Linked DNA regions of Homo sapiens: all the other regions are linked to region 3. The links are contacts of gene promoters, found by promoter capture Hi-C in human tissues and cell types (Jung and others, 2019). All regions are on one chromosome and are shown on one strand. The core of a region is centred on a gene start or on the middle of the fragment in contact, and the rest is flanking DNA. Distances in the headings are between cores, read along the strand shown. Region 1 has its middle 22 kb from the start of ABTB2. Region 2 has its middle 9.5 kb from the start of CAPRIN1. Region 3 holds the start of APIP (APAF1 interacting protein). Region 4 overlaps ABTB2 (ankyrin repeat and BTB domain containing 2).

What was found. Contacts are between HindIII fragments. The study calls those that stand out against the background at their distance.
Region 1: a contact is called between a fragment that was not itself captured here and the fragment with the promoter of APIP in region 3, in 1 of the 25 tissues and cell types used here (spleen).
Region 2: a fragment that was not itself captured here is called in contact with the fragment with the promoter of APIP in region 3 in 1 of the 25 tissues and cell types used here (spleen).
Region 4: a fragment that was not itself captured here is called in contact with the fragment with the promoter of APIP in region 3 in 1 of the 25 tissues and cell types used here (dorsolateral prefrontal cortex).

The regions. Positions count from the first base shown.
Region 1 is chr11:34,378,694-34,382,110 of GRCh38, reverse strand. No RefSeq gene overlaps it. Among named protein-coding and RNA genes, the nearest start is that of ABTB2, 22 kb to the right of the region's middle. The HindIII fragment of the contact is 4,751 bases long and covers 1-3,417 here.
Region 2 is chr11:34,040,612-34,043,801 of GRCh38, reverse strand. No RefSeq gene overlaps it. Among named protein-coding and RNA genes, the nearest start is that of CAPRIN1, 9.5 kb to the left of the region's middle. The HindIII fragment of the contact is 8,987 bases long and covers 1-3,190 here.
Region 3 is chr11:34,914,600-34,917,875 of GRCh38, reverse strand. It overlaps APIP (APAF1 interacting protein), which reads left to right and starts at 1,497. Exons shown (of 7, transcript NM_015957.4): 1 at 1,497-1,648. The coding sequence starts at 1,592. PDHX (pyruvate dehydrogenase complex component X) reads right to left here and starts at 1,258. Exons shown (of 11, transcript NM_003477.3): 1 at 1,061-1,258. The coding sequence starts at 1,220. RefSeq lists an enhancer at 957-1,256 and silencers at 1,427-1,476, 1,497-1,836. The HindIII fragment of the contact is 5,804 bases long and covers 1-3,117 here.
Region 4 is chr11:34,349,350-34,352,881 of GRCh38, reverse strand. The region is part of intron 1 of ABTB2 (ankyrin repeat and BTB domain containing 2); the gene reads left to right. Among named protein-coding and RNA genes, the nearest start is that of ABTB2, 6.9 kb to the left of the region's middle. RefSeq lists an enhancer at 687-736. The HindIII fragment of the contact is 5,708 bases long and covers 1-3,532 here.

The DNA of each region.
Region 1 (3,417 bases), core at 559-3,058, 540 kb after region 3:
GGCATGAAAAATGGACATCATGGAGATGTGATGACAGAAGGCACATACCTAGATTTCTTTCCTCATAGTACAGTGGTTGTTAAGAGCACAGAGTCTAGAACTAGCTAGATTCTTGGGCTCCAAATCCTGGCTCTACTAGCTCTATGACCTTATCAAGTTACTGACCATCACTGTGCTTTGGTTGCCTCATCAGTGGAAAAGATCATAGGGTTGTGATGAGAAAAACAAGTTAATAAATGTAAATAAATATGCATGGTGCATAGTAGGTACTATATAAGAGCTGGCTGCAAAAAATAAGGCCTTTCTCCTGTGATCCCATTAGTATTATGCTTTCATATTTATATGTTTTTGGTAAAGTCTTCCTTTTCTTCTTTTTCTTATATAAGAACAACATAGTTTCACTACAAAGAACTCAGAAAGGACAGGGAAGCAAAATAAACTTTTTCAAGAAAAAAAAATCCACAATCCCTTTCCTCAAGGGAAAACCACTACTAACATATCATATTTCACCCATCTATGTATTTTTATTTTTGCAATAGTGTTCTGTAACACATCTTTTTAAAATTTGACAATATATTATGGACATCTTCCACATCTAGAAATATATTTCTACAGTGTCTTTTTAGTTATCACAAAGTATTCTGTTAAATGAGTATTTCATACTTTACCTTGCCAATTTTCTGCTGTTGAATATTGGCATTATTTCTGTTTTTGTTTGGTTGTTTTTTGTTTGTTTGTTTGTTTTTGTTATTACAGATAGCACTGTGATGAACATCTTTAGAGCTAATTTCTAGTGCATGTCCATAATATTTCCATAGGATAAATTCTCAGAAATAAAATTGCTAGGTCAAAAATCATGCGTATTTTTAAGGCTTTGATGAGTGTGCTTCAATTGATCTCCAGAAAAAAAAAATGCATCCAAGTATCCATTCATTTCCTTACCCCTCTTGAAAATACTATTATTTCTGTTTCATTTACAGTTTTCCTACAATCCTTACTAAGATCCCCAAACTTGATGGTGTCTTTGATATAGCACCCACAACACACAAATCTGTGATTTCTATGTATTATTTACCCTCAGCCCTTGGCCCCTGACCTTTCATCTTAGCTGCATCTCGAGGACTTCCTCTGGTGGACTGGATTTTTACCATGATGTATTTTATGGTGGGATTGTCAACACATCAGATGGACGATGTGATTGTCAACACATACCCTGACTAATATCTAAGTCTTCTGACACACTTTTATGTGCTGCTTACTCAATTACTCAACATTTACTCATCACCAGCTGAATTTGTGAACTACATGCTAGGGAAGCAAAGATGAATAATAATAGTCTTTGACCTAGAGGATCTTCAGCTAAAGGGAGGCAGATAGGTAAAAAGATAAATCACAATGCAATGGGAAATATGCTTTTAAAACATTTTTATCCCATGTCATGATAGCAGAAATTGCTATGCAGTTCATTCATTTATTTCCATAATACATAATAGGTCCAAGCTCTATACTTTCATTTTCAAAATTTATTATTTTTTTATAACAAAGCAATACATGCTCATTTCAGAAAGATCAGAAAATGTAGACAAACAGGAAAAAAACGCTACTTTTAAACTGTAATCCCATCTGTCTTGTCACCATTAGCACTTTCATATATTAAGTTGTTTTCTACTTTTTTAAAACAAAAGTTAGATCAAAACACACATGTTGGCTGGGAGCAGTGGCTCATACCTGTAATCTCAGCAATTTGGGAGGCTGAGGCAGGCAGATCACTTGAGGTCAGGAGTTCGAAACCAGCCAGCCAACATGGTGAAACCCCATCTCAACTAAAAATACAAAAATTAGCTGGATGTGGTGGTGCATGCCTGTATTCCCTGCTACTTGGGAGGCTGAGCCAAGAGAATCATTTGAATTCGGGAGGTGGAGGTTGCAGTGAGCCTGGGTGACAGAGCGAGACTCCGTCTCAAAAACAAACAAACAAAAAACATTTCTGTGATTTGCTTTTTTCACCTAATTATCATAAACATATTTCAAGACAAAAGATATATTTCTGCATCACTTTAAATGGCTCCATATTATTCCACTATATGGATATTTACTTATTTTTAACAATCTGCCATTGTTAGACAGTTACATGTTTATATCTTTTTATAATTACTAACAATACTGCAATTGATTTTGTTGCTAAATATTTGTGCTCATTCTTATTTCTTTACCACAAATTCCAATAAGTTAAGTCATGTGATATTTGAAATGCTTTTCTCATAGTCAGATTTAGAGGCAATGGCTGTAATAGATATCTCCCAGCTCAGTTGCTTTTTGTGGCTTTGGGTTTCAGTCCTACCTGCTAAAGATTAAACTTGATCAAAGGTGCATGTTCTAAGTGACATTAGCAGTGTAGTAATCTAGGAGGTCATAGCCCTTGTCCTGCCACAAAAAAAAAAAAAAAAAAAAAAAAAAAAAAAAAATTTCATAAGCTCCATAGACAAATATAGCCCCAGGAAAGCTCTGGAGTACAATTAAGAAGATGCAGCAATCTAAAAGAACTGAGAACACCCACATAGAATACGGTAGGAAGCGTTTTGCCTGCATTCACCTCATTCCCCAGACAAGCAGAGCCCAGTGAAGAAGAATTTCTTCTGCTGTGAGTCCCCCAGTTGGGAAAAAAAGAGAGCAAAAGGACTTGGCAGGCTTCACCATCGAGGACCCCAGCAGTCATTGTGCTAAGGCCCTGCAGTCTTTGCCAAGAGTAACCCCAGCTGCCAGAGTCACCCAGAGCCCATCAAGCTACTTCCTCATGCCAGCCACAGATAAAGGTCTTTCCCTACCAAAGACAGTCTGTAAAGTTTGAAAGAGGTGACTGTTTCTTCAAATGCACAGACACCAATAGGGTCATATCTTAAAGATATTGTGGTTTGGGTTTCAGACCACTGCAATAAAGTAAATATGCAGTAAAGTGAGTCACACAAATTTGTTGGCTTCCCAGTGCATATAAAATATGTTGATATTATACTGTAGTCTATAAAGTGTGCAACAGCATTATTTCCAAAAAACAATGTACATATCCTAATTTAAAAATACCTCATTGCTAAAAAAAAGGCTAATGATCATCTCCTTGATCCACGGGCTGCAAAATAGATGTTGTGTTAGCAGGCAAAAATCAACTTTAAGGCTGGGCATAGTGGCTCATGCCTGTAATCCCAGAAGTTTGGGAGGCCAACGTGGGTGGATCACCTGAGGTCGGGAGTTCGAGACCAGCCTGATCAACATGGAGAAACCCCATCTCTAGTAAAAATATGAAATGAGTGAGGCATGGTGGTGCATGACTGTAATCCCAGCTATTCAGGATGCTGAGGCAGGAGAATCACTTGAACCCAGGAGGCAGAGGTTGCAGTGAGCCGAGATTGCACCATTGCACTC
Region 2 (3,190 bases), core at 144-2,643, 870 kb after region 3:
ATTTAGATAAGTAAATTATGCAAAACTAAAACAACAGCTCAGTGTGTTGTATAACTTTTATTGGGCTCTAATTTACCTATCATAAAATTAACCCATTTAAAGTGTACAATTAACTGGTTTTTAGTATATTTGATATTTGAGAGTAATGCAACCATTGCCATTACCTAATTTTAGGACATTTTTATCACCCCAGGAAGTAACATGTACCTCATTAGCAGTCATTCCCCATTTACCCCTCCTCCTAGCCCCTGGCTACTGCTAATCTACTTTCTCTATGAAATTGCCTATTCTGGACATTTTAGATAGCTGGAACCCTACAATATATGGCCTTTTGTGCCTGGCTTATTTCACTTATCATAGTATTTTTAAGATACATCCTTGTTTTGGCATGAATTTCATTCCTTTTTATGGCTGAATAATATTCCATTGAATAGGTATACTAGAGTTTGTTTGTCTATTCATCCATTGATAGACACTTGGGGTGTCTTCCACTTCTTGGTTGTTGTGAATAATGCTGTTGTGAATATTTGATATGGTTTGGATTTGTGTCCCCACCCAAATCTCATGTCAAATTGTGATCCCCAATGTTGGAGAAGGGGCCTAGTGGGTGGGAGGTGATTGGATCATAAGGGCAGACTTCCCTCTTGCTGTTGCTGTGATAGTGAGTTTCACGAGATCTGGTTGTTTAAAAGTGTGTAGCACTTCCACCCTCACTCTGTCTCTCCTGCTGCACCATGTGAAGATTGTGCCTGCTTCCCCTTTGCCGTCTGCCATGATGATAAGTTTCCTGAGGCCTCCCCCAGCCTGTGGAACAGTAAGCCAATTAAACCTCTTTTCTTTATAAATTACCCAGTCTCAGGTAGTTTTTTTTTTTTCAACGGAGTCTCACTCTATCACCAGCCTGTAATGCAGTGACGCGATCTCGGCTCACTGCAACCTCTGCCTCCTGGGTTCAAGTGATTCTCCTGCCTCAGCCTCCCAAGTAGCTGGGACTACAGGCACGCGCCACCATGCCTGGCTGATTTTTTTTTGTATTTTTAGTAGACACGGGGTTTCACCATGTTGGCCAGGATGGTCTTGATCTCTTGACCTCATGATCCACCTGCCTTGGCCTCCCAAAGTGTTGGGGTTACAGGTGTAAGCCACTGCACCTGGCCTCAGGTAGTTCTCTATAGCAATGAGAGAACAGACTAATGCAACATTCATGTACAAGTTTTTTGTATGAACACATGTTTTCAATTCACTAGGTATACACCTACAGTAGATTGCTAGGTTATATGGTAACTTTATGTGTAATGTTTTTGTTTTTGTTTTTGTTTTGGGATGGAGTCTCGCTCTGTTGCCCAGGCTGGAGTGCAGTGGTGTGATCTCGGTTCACTGCAGCCTCCACCTCCCGAGTTCAAGCGATTCTCCTGCCTCAAGCTCCAAAGTAGCTGGGCCTGTAGGTGCGCACCACAACGCCCGGCTAATTTTTTTTGTATTTTTAGTAGAGATGGGGTTTCATCATGTTGACCACACTGGCCTCAATCTCCTGACCTCGTGATCCGCCCTCTTCAGCCTCCCAAAGTGCTGGGATTACAGGCATGAGCCACTGTGCCTGGCCTACATGTAATATTTTGAGCAACTGCCTAAGTGTTCTCCAAAGTGGCTGCACCATATTCAGCTTTGTATGAGGTTTCAATTTCTTTACATCCTCATCAAACACTTGTTATTAGCCATGTTTGTTTGTTTGTTTGTTGTTTTTGTTTTTTTGAGACAGAGTCTCGCTCTATCGCCCAGGCTGGAGTGCAATGGCACAATCTCAGCTCACTGCAACCTCCACCTCCCAGGTTCAAGCTATTCTTCCGCCCCAGGCTCCCAAGTAGCTGGGATTACAGGCACCTGCCATCATGCCCAGCTAATTTTTGCATTTTTTGTAGAGACAGGGTTTCAACATGTTGGCCAGGCTGGTCTTGAACTCCCGACCTCAGGTGATCTGCCCACCTTGGCCTCCCAAAGTGCTGGGATTACAGGTGTGAGCCACCGCGCCCCGCCCTTAGCCATGTTTTTGATTATCGCTGTGCTAGTGAATGTGTCTCAGTGAGAAGCAGTACCTTATTGGGGCTCTATTTGCATAACTGGTTGTCTTTAAACAAGGATTAGATTATTCCACTCTTTGTGGGATTTACATATGATTTTGGAAGAAAGTGGGGGAAATGGAATCATATTTCAAGGGTTCTTTTACCTTTATGATTAGGACTGTCACAGCTCTAGTGTCTACATTGCCAGGCAATGCTATGAAGCACTCAGCTGATGAGGCCTTGGGAAGAAAGTATCAGAAGACTAATACTGGCAGTGAGTGGACACTCAGGCATGTCTGTTGACTGGGATTTGATGATGATTAAACTTAGGCAAGGTCGATTTTTATGTACCGGAAATGTTTGATTTTAGCATTTGGAAGACTTCTCAGCCCCTCATTACTTCTGCAACAAGAACTTAGCACCTTGTGCATGCCAGGCACTGTCTGTGTTTATTCACATGTTGAATAAGACATAATCCTATGGCCTCCAGAAAATTAGTATTAAGAAGGGTAGTCAAATATATAAAGAGATACAATTTAATGTGATATACTTCAGTGAGATACTACTACATAGTCACCAAAATGGCTAAAATTTAAAAACTGAAATGGGCCAGGCACATTGGCTTATGCCTGTAATCCCAGCACTTTGAGAGGCCAATGCGGGCAGATGGCCTGAGCTCAGGAGTTAAAGACCAGCTTGGGCAACATGGCGAAACCCCATCTCTACAAAAACTACAAAAATTACCTGGGCATGGTGGCACGTGCCTGTAGTCTCAGCTTCTTGGGGGGCTGAGGAGAGAGGATCTCTTGAGCCTGGGAGGTTAAGGCTGCAGTGAGCCATGTTCGTGCCACTGCACTCCAGCCAGGGTGACAAAGCAAGACCCTGTCCTAAAAGCAAAAGAAAACAAAACAAAAACAAAGCAAAACCTGAAATAAACAAGGAATGGCAAGAATGTAGCGCAACTGGAATTTCCATGCAGTGTGGATGGGAGTATAAATTGGCCCAGACAGCCGTGCGCGGTGGCTCACACCTGCAATCCTAGAACTTTGGGAGGCTGAGGCGAGTGGATTGCCTGAGCTCAGGAGTTTGAGACCAGCCTGGGCAACACGGCGTAACCCATCTCTACTAAA
Region 3 (3,276 bases), core at 248-2,747:
AGTTTAATTTCAACAAACTTGGAGGAGGGAAGAGAAGGAATTCTGCACACACTGTTAAAGCACCTCTGCTCCAAGGAATATGTTATGAAACATTACACCAAAAATGAAATAAATTGTTCCCATTAAGGAACCTTTAGGAACCCCAATACACTCATCTTACCATATGACTTTGTGTGATTTTTTTTTTCTGAGCCTAAGGTAGCTCAGAATATGAAGGCAACGTCTACTAGACCTATTTAAATTAAAATTCATTCTGTAGAGTGCCAGGAACGATGATTGGCAGGTAATACGTCACACTAAAAAACGTCAGTCCTATTCTCCATCCCCGCCTCCCTCCAACCTTCTCCCAAAATAAGGAAAAATAATACCCGGCCTGCCATTTTGCATACTGTTAAATACTGCAAGAATTGTGTTAACTGCATCAATATCATTACTAAACAACAATTTTCTATAATAAATTTTTGGTATGATTTATCTCCTAAATGTTTGCTCTTTCAAGCGAATATTTGCTTGAAACATTCTCCTGGACCTTTGTCTATCGTGATGCCGTAGGAATTTACAAATTTAAGTCTTCCACGAGTCATGGCGTGGGGTAAAACTCGACTGGCCTCAATGAAAACACCTCCTAACAGAGAGAGGCCTAGAGAATAAGTAAGAACTCCCAACAGTGGCTTTTCAATCTCGGCAACCTTGGGCAGCTTTTTCTCGTCCGAGACGTTTGACAACCCTAAAGAAACCTGAGCCTTGATTGGAAAGGGGGCTGAGGGAGGAGAGTTTGGGAACCCTCTCTGCGCCTCACAAATAACCCAAATTCCAAGGCAAGGTCACAAAGCCATACAAACCAGGGGGCCTAGGGCAGAGTCGAGTTCTCTCAGCTGCCAAGAAAGCCCTTCACAGCATGCATTAGGCCAAGTCGGCGGACCCCAACCGGAGAAAGAGGAAAGGGAATAAGGAGCCCGCGCACCTTCACACCCAAAAGCAGGCCCTCAATCATAACTGCCCCTGTCCCAGGCCCATCACTCAGCTACACAGAGAAGCTGAGCGAGCCCCGGCCACTCACCCCGAAGCCACTGCGTGCTGTGAAACCATCTCCAATTAGCTCCGCGGCTTACAGACCACCCAAGAGCCCCCTTCACCAGCCCTACGCTTCGGCGGCCGGGGAAGCCCACAAGATAACGCAGCAGCCGCGGATCACAGCCCAGCCTCCAGGAGGCCGCCATCTTGACGGCCTTCTCACTGGCTGCCCGCAGCACAGCCTGATGTCCAGCATCAAGGCCCCGCCTCCCGCATGGTTGGCCACGCCCCCAGACGCTAGCGGTGCCTTTAGGTCTCTCAGACTTGAACCCCCGCCCCCCAACCCAGCCCCGCCTCCAACCACGTTGGCCTTGCCTCCCGGGAAGTCAGGTGCGCCGCTGGATATCTCAGCCGGCGGGGCCTTACCAGACCCCGGCCCCCGCCCCGTTCGCCCCGCCCCCGGGCTGCCCTCAGCGCCGCCTGATTGCATTTGCGGCCTCGCTGCCGTATCCCAGGCTAAGCGCCGCGCGCAAAGCCGTGCGGAGATTGGAGGCCGCGCGGGTCCCTGGTCTGGGCCATGTCTGGCTGTGATGCTCGGGAGGGAGACTGTTGTTCCCGGAGATGCGGCGCGCAGGTAGGGGCGGGGCCACCGGTGCCCGGTATTCCCAGGAGGAGAGGCCCAGGCGGGACCCGGCGGCTGGAGCTGGGCGCAGGGTAGCGGGCCGGGCGTTTAGCTGCGGGGCGGGGTTTCGGGCCTGGCCGTTCGCTACCCCGGCGCACCGCGACCTTGGCGTTCGGAAGCAAGGCTGCGAGGCCCCAGGAGATCAGTGGTCTCGGGCGGGGCGCTCCGATGGCGGGAGCTGGGCGCCAAACGTTGGAAAGAAGCAAATAACTGAGAGAGGAGAGCGTTTAGGTGACCTCACCGGGTATTTATCAGGAAGGCAGGCCAGAGAAGGAATCGTGAAGCACCGAAGTGGAGCTGGGGCGAAGACCGCGCCCCCCAAGCTTCTTTTCTGCGCCCTGACGACCAGTTAGGCGTTTGGGGGGACGTTTGGCACTCGGGAGACGTTTGCCGAACCGGAGCTGTGCCTCAGCTGCCAGCGCTTTGCCTTTGAGCAGTTGCTCCTTGCCTATCTCCGTTTAGATGAATTGTGGGATGATCATGGGAACGATTCTTCCTTAAGCCGAAGTCAAAGGGAAATCCACCCTCACGCTGCATGTAGTTTTCGGTCATTTACACAAACCAACAGTTTTATGGAGCGCCTTCTACACGCTCAGAGATAGGGATACGTAAGATAAATGGCCCAGGGTCTGGAGAACTAGACGAATAAGCAGTTTCAGCACAATATGATAAACCCCACCTAAGAGGCAGGGAAACCCCTCAAAATTAGTTTCCTTATTCCCCCTATCTTATTCCTCCTATCTATATCTTTCTTAGGGTTGAAAATCCTAATTAAAAAGTAGTAACTCGCGGGAGATTTCATTGCTAAACATTTGTCAACCACTTTCTTGTTTGAATAAGTGACTTCCCCAAATTAGCAAAGACGACTCTGAAAATAGAATGCTGCATAGGCAAGATTGGATGAGAGAGAGAAGATCTTGGAGACAGGACAGGTAACTGGAGATCGTTCCTGGGCAAGTGTGTATGGAGAAGTGTCCGTACCCTCAATCAGTAAATCTTAGTGTAATGTCATCAGAATGAGCATCAAAGAGAGCCTTAAGGGACCCGAGAATAAACTAGGATTCTCAAACCAAACATGGCCCACAGACAGCTTGGTGGACAGGCATGTTTTTTTTTTGCTGCACTCAATGTTCATGAAAAATTTGAGCCAACCTTTTTTTTTTTTTTTTTTTTTTTTTGACACGTTTTGCTCTTGTTGCCCAGGCTGGAGTGCAGTGGCGTGATCTCAGCTCACTGCAACTTCTGCCTCCTTGGTTCAAGCGATTTTCCTGCCTCAGCCTCCCAAGTAGCTGGGATTACAGGCGCATGTCACCACACCCAGTTAATTTTTGTATTTTTAGTAGAGACTGGGTTTCACCATGTTGGCCAGGCTGGTCTCGAACTCGTTATCTCAGGTGATCCACCCCCCTAAGCTGCCCAAAGTGCTGGGATTACAGGTGTAAGCCACCACGCCCTGCCAAGCCAACATTTCAAAATCCAGAATCATTTCAGCTTCTTTTAAAACCTCAGAACACATGGTGACATTGGGCCCTTATTTTTTCATGGGATCTGGATTGCGGTTACTAGTGAACACCACCTTT
Region 4 (3,532 bases), core at 488-2,987, 570 kb after region 3:
GTCTTGCTATGTTGCCCAGGCTGGCCTTAAACTCCTGGGCTCAAGGGATTCTCCCGCTTCAGCCTCCCAGAGTGCTGGGATTACAGGCATGACCCATCATGCCTGGCCATACACAACTTTGCCATTTACATGAGTGGCCTGGTGCAATTTTCTTAACCATTCTAACCTTCAATTTTGTCATCTGCAAAATGGGACATAGTAAGAGCACCTAGCTTATATGGGTGGTATGAGAATTAAATGAGACTATAGATTGAAAGATCTTAGCACATAGTAAATGCTCAATAAATAGTAAATTCATTCAACAATTATTGAGCACTGACCCTGTACCCACCACTGTTAAAAGTGCTGTGGACTAAGTGATGAACAAGGGGAAAAGCCCTCCTCTCATGAAGTTTATAATCCAGTGGAGGAAATGAGAAAAAGTAAATAAGCAAGGATTTTCTCTTGGTAATGAGTGTTGTTTAAAATATTTTTTTTAAAGGGCAGGGTAATGGGATGGTGTGACGGGGCTAATTTAAATGACAGTCAAGGAATGCTTCTCTGAAGGTTTATTAGTAATAGCCAGTAATATCAATACTACTAAGGACCTTTAGGCCAAAAATAGTGACTGAGGACTTTTCTGAATGATTCAGTTATTCACCAGCTGAGAGAAGTCTCAACATCTCACTTAGAGCTGAGAAAGAAAAGGGCTGCATGTAGAGCAGGGACGAAACCTCTTCTGGTTGTGGGATTTATTTAGTGATGAGATTGTAGGATGAATTTCTACTGAGAGAAGCAACTGAAGCAGCAAGGGTTGATTGAGCTTGTCAGGTGGTGTTTAATCAGTTTCCACACCTGGGTAGTCTGAAGGATGAGGGCTGCTTCCTATCTCTTTAACCATTTTATTAAAGCCAAGAGAGTTGGTAAAACTGAAACAGAGCAAGCTTTGGAAATGAAAAATTTTTTTTTCTCGCACGCCTGAGAAAGGCAACCCTAGCCTTAAGTAGTAAGAGGAACAAGGTAGAGTTGTTCCACTTCCTCCTACTGAAAGCTCTACCTGACTCCCCCAGCTGGAAGAGCCACCCCTTTGTGATGTTTCCTCAGCACCCAGGACATATTCTTAAATCATTTCCTGCTTGTGTGTGTCTCTCCCATAAAACTGTGCACTTCATAGGCATTGCTGTCTTCCCTGTACCTCTCATGGTGTCTACAATATGTGCTCTATAAATGATGGGCAAATGATAGATCCCGCCATACAGGTTTAAAATTTGTATTTGAATTCCTTTGATATATCAGAACCGTCCCCATTTCTACCAAGGCAGAAAATTTCCAAGTTGTTCTCAATGAATAGAGTCAGCATTTTGGGGCTACATCCAACCTTTGGGTACCCTGCTTTCTAGCAGGGTTCCCAAGTCTGGCTTTGATGTGCAAGATGTGAGTTGGGGGAATTTTCAGTTTAGGAGAATGTCTTCAGTGTACAATACCCAAGAGGAAGGGCTTCACAACAGACGTCTGGTACAGCAGGCCACAGAAAAGTCAACAGGAGGATTGAGTTGAAGGTTTCCTTAAGAATGGAAATACCAACCGCCCCCTTGCCAACAGAGCTGCCCCAGAGGACAATTTATGTTGATGACTATTGCTCAGAAGAGTTTACATCTGTGTCCCACTCCATCTGCCTCCAGTCTGAGGACTGAACCAAGGTAATCAATTGCCAAGACATTCCTGGGTTGGCATCCCAAGAATGGGAAGTTCTGAAACAAACCAGAGACACTTGGTTGCACATCCTCAGCTTTGTCCTTATCCCACCTCACCATCAGTATTCATCCTTTGTCCGACAGGTCAGTGGGTAGATGCTTCGCCTCTATTTCTACTCTTATGCAGCTGTAGTAATAGGTCTGACTTTTCCACAACACCTCAAGCTTATTCTCATCTGTGAGCTTTCTAGGTCCCCATGAGAATCCTGTGAATGTGTGTCCTTTCACTGAGAGGTCTCCATGAGTCCAGAATTCACAGCTCAATAATAACTAAGCTCAATAATGACTAAGTCCCATTTTGCTCAAGCCCCAGGCCTGTGCTTTTCCTATAAAGAATTACAGAATCCAAGGTAGCAAATACAGGTCAGTACTTGGCCCCATTCAGATGGCAGCTAGGGTCAAACTCATAGCAAGAACAACACTTGTTATAGGTCTTGTTTGTTAATGGCCTATGGTGTCCAGACACTTTACATTTGTTAGGCCAGTGAGTGTTCACGACCACAGTGAAAGAGCAGGCACTGACACCCAGGGGTGTATCTTCCTCCAAAGGTTGCTGTTACTCTGTTTAAATGCTGCTTGCTGGCTCTCCCCACCCTAGAGGTGCCACTGATTTTAAAGAGCCATTATTGCTGCTCCTGGGGATGGAAGAAGAGGGCACAGAGAGCTCTGCTGCCCAGGGAGGGCCTTTATAAGTGTCACCTGCTGGTGACCAATAAGCTCAGCTGAATAGAGAAGCCGCAGAGTACACTGCGATGCTCTTCTAAAGGATGGGCGGGTCAGCTCAGCAAAGGCTAATACATGAAGGAGAGAAGGCACCAAGAGGGATTTGAGTCTAGGTCACTGGTCTTGGGGAGCTTGGTGCACCTGTCCTGGAGTTGGCAGAAGAGCCTGTATGAAGGGGGCTTTGATTTCCTCCGAGTCCCCCATGGTGTCCGGCTGCTGACTCCATCTCGGTGTTTAGAGCACAGGGAGAGAATGAGTCAGCGATGTAGCAAAGCAGTGAAGGGCCCAGACTTTGGAGTCTGAATTGAGTCCCAGATTGATTTGCCTCTTACTGACCTAGGCCTTCAAGCAAGTCACACTATGTTTCTATTTCCTCTACTGTAAAATGAGAGGCTTGTACACATGCGGTTGTGCCTTATGCATACTCAGTGCCCTGGGATGTGAGAGATGCAGCCAGGCTTACTGGTGAGAGCACAGCACGGGGTGGGGCTGCCTGGCTGTAATTCCTCATAACTTCACTTGGGAGCTGTGTGACCCTGGGCAAGTTGTTTCACTTCCGTGCCTTAGTTTCTTCCTTGATCACAGGGCACCATTGACATTTTGGACTGGTTAATGTTTTGTCATGAGGTTGTCTTGGGCATTGTAGGATGCTTCATAGCCACCACCAGTTGAGACCATCAAAAATGTCTCCAGACTTTTCCAGATGTTCCCTGGGGAGCAAATTCACCCTTGGCTGTGAAACACAGCTCTATAAGATAGGACTGAAAATAGTACCCAACTCATAGGATGGTTGTGAGAATTTCATAAGAGTCCCTGTGAGGGACTTTGTGTTATGCCTGACACATAAGATATTCTAATTGTTTTTAACAAACTTGTGTTGGATCCACTGATTGTGTTCATTTTTGCCAAAGTCTCTGGTGCAAGGAGGGTCACGACCCAAATCTCAGGGAGATGGGTATTACTCGCAAGGCTTTCCTTGGTGGCTAACAGTTTGTTTGTGGAGGTAGGAGGAAGTTATGGAATCTGGAAAAGCACCCTTGCACCTTGCTCAGTTATGGCTCGATTACCCCCAACAA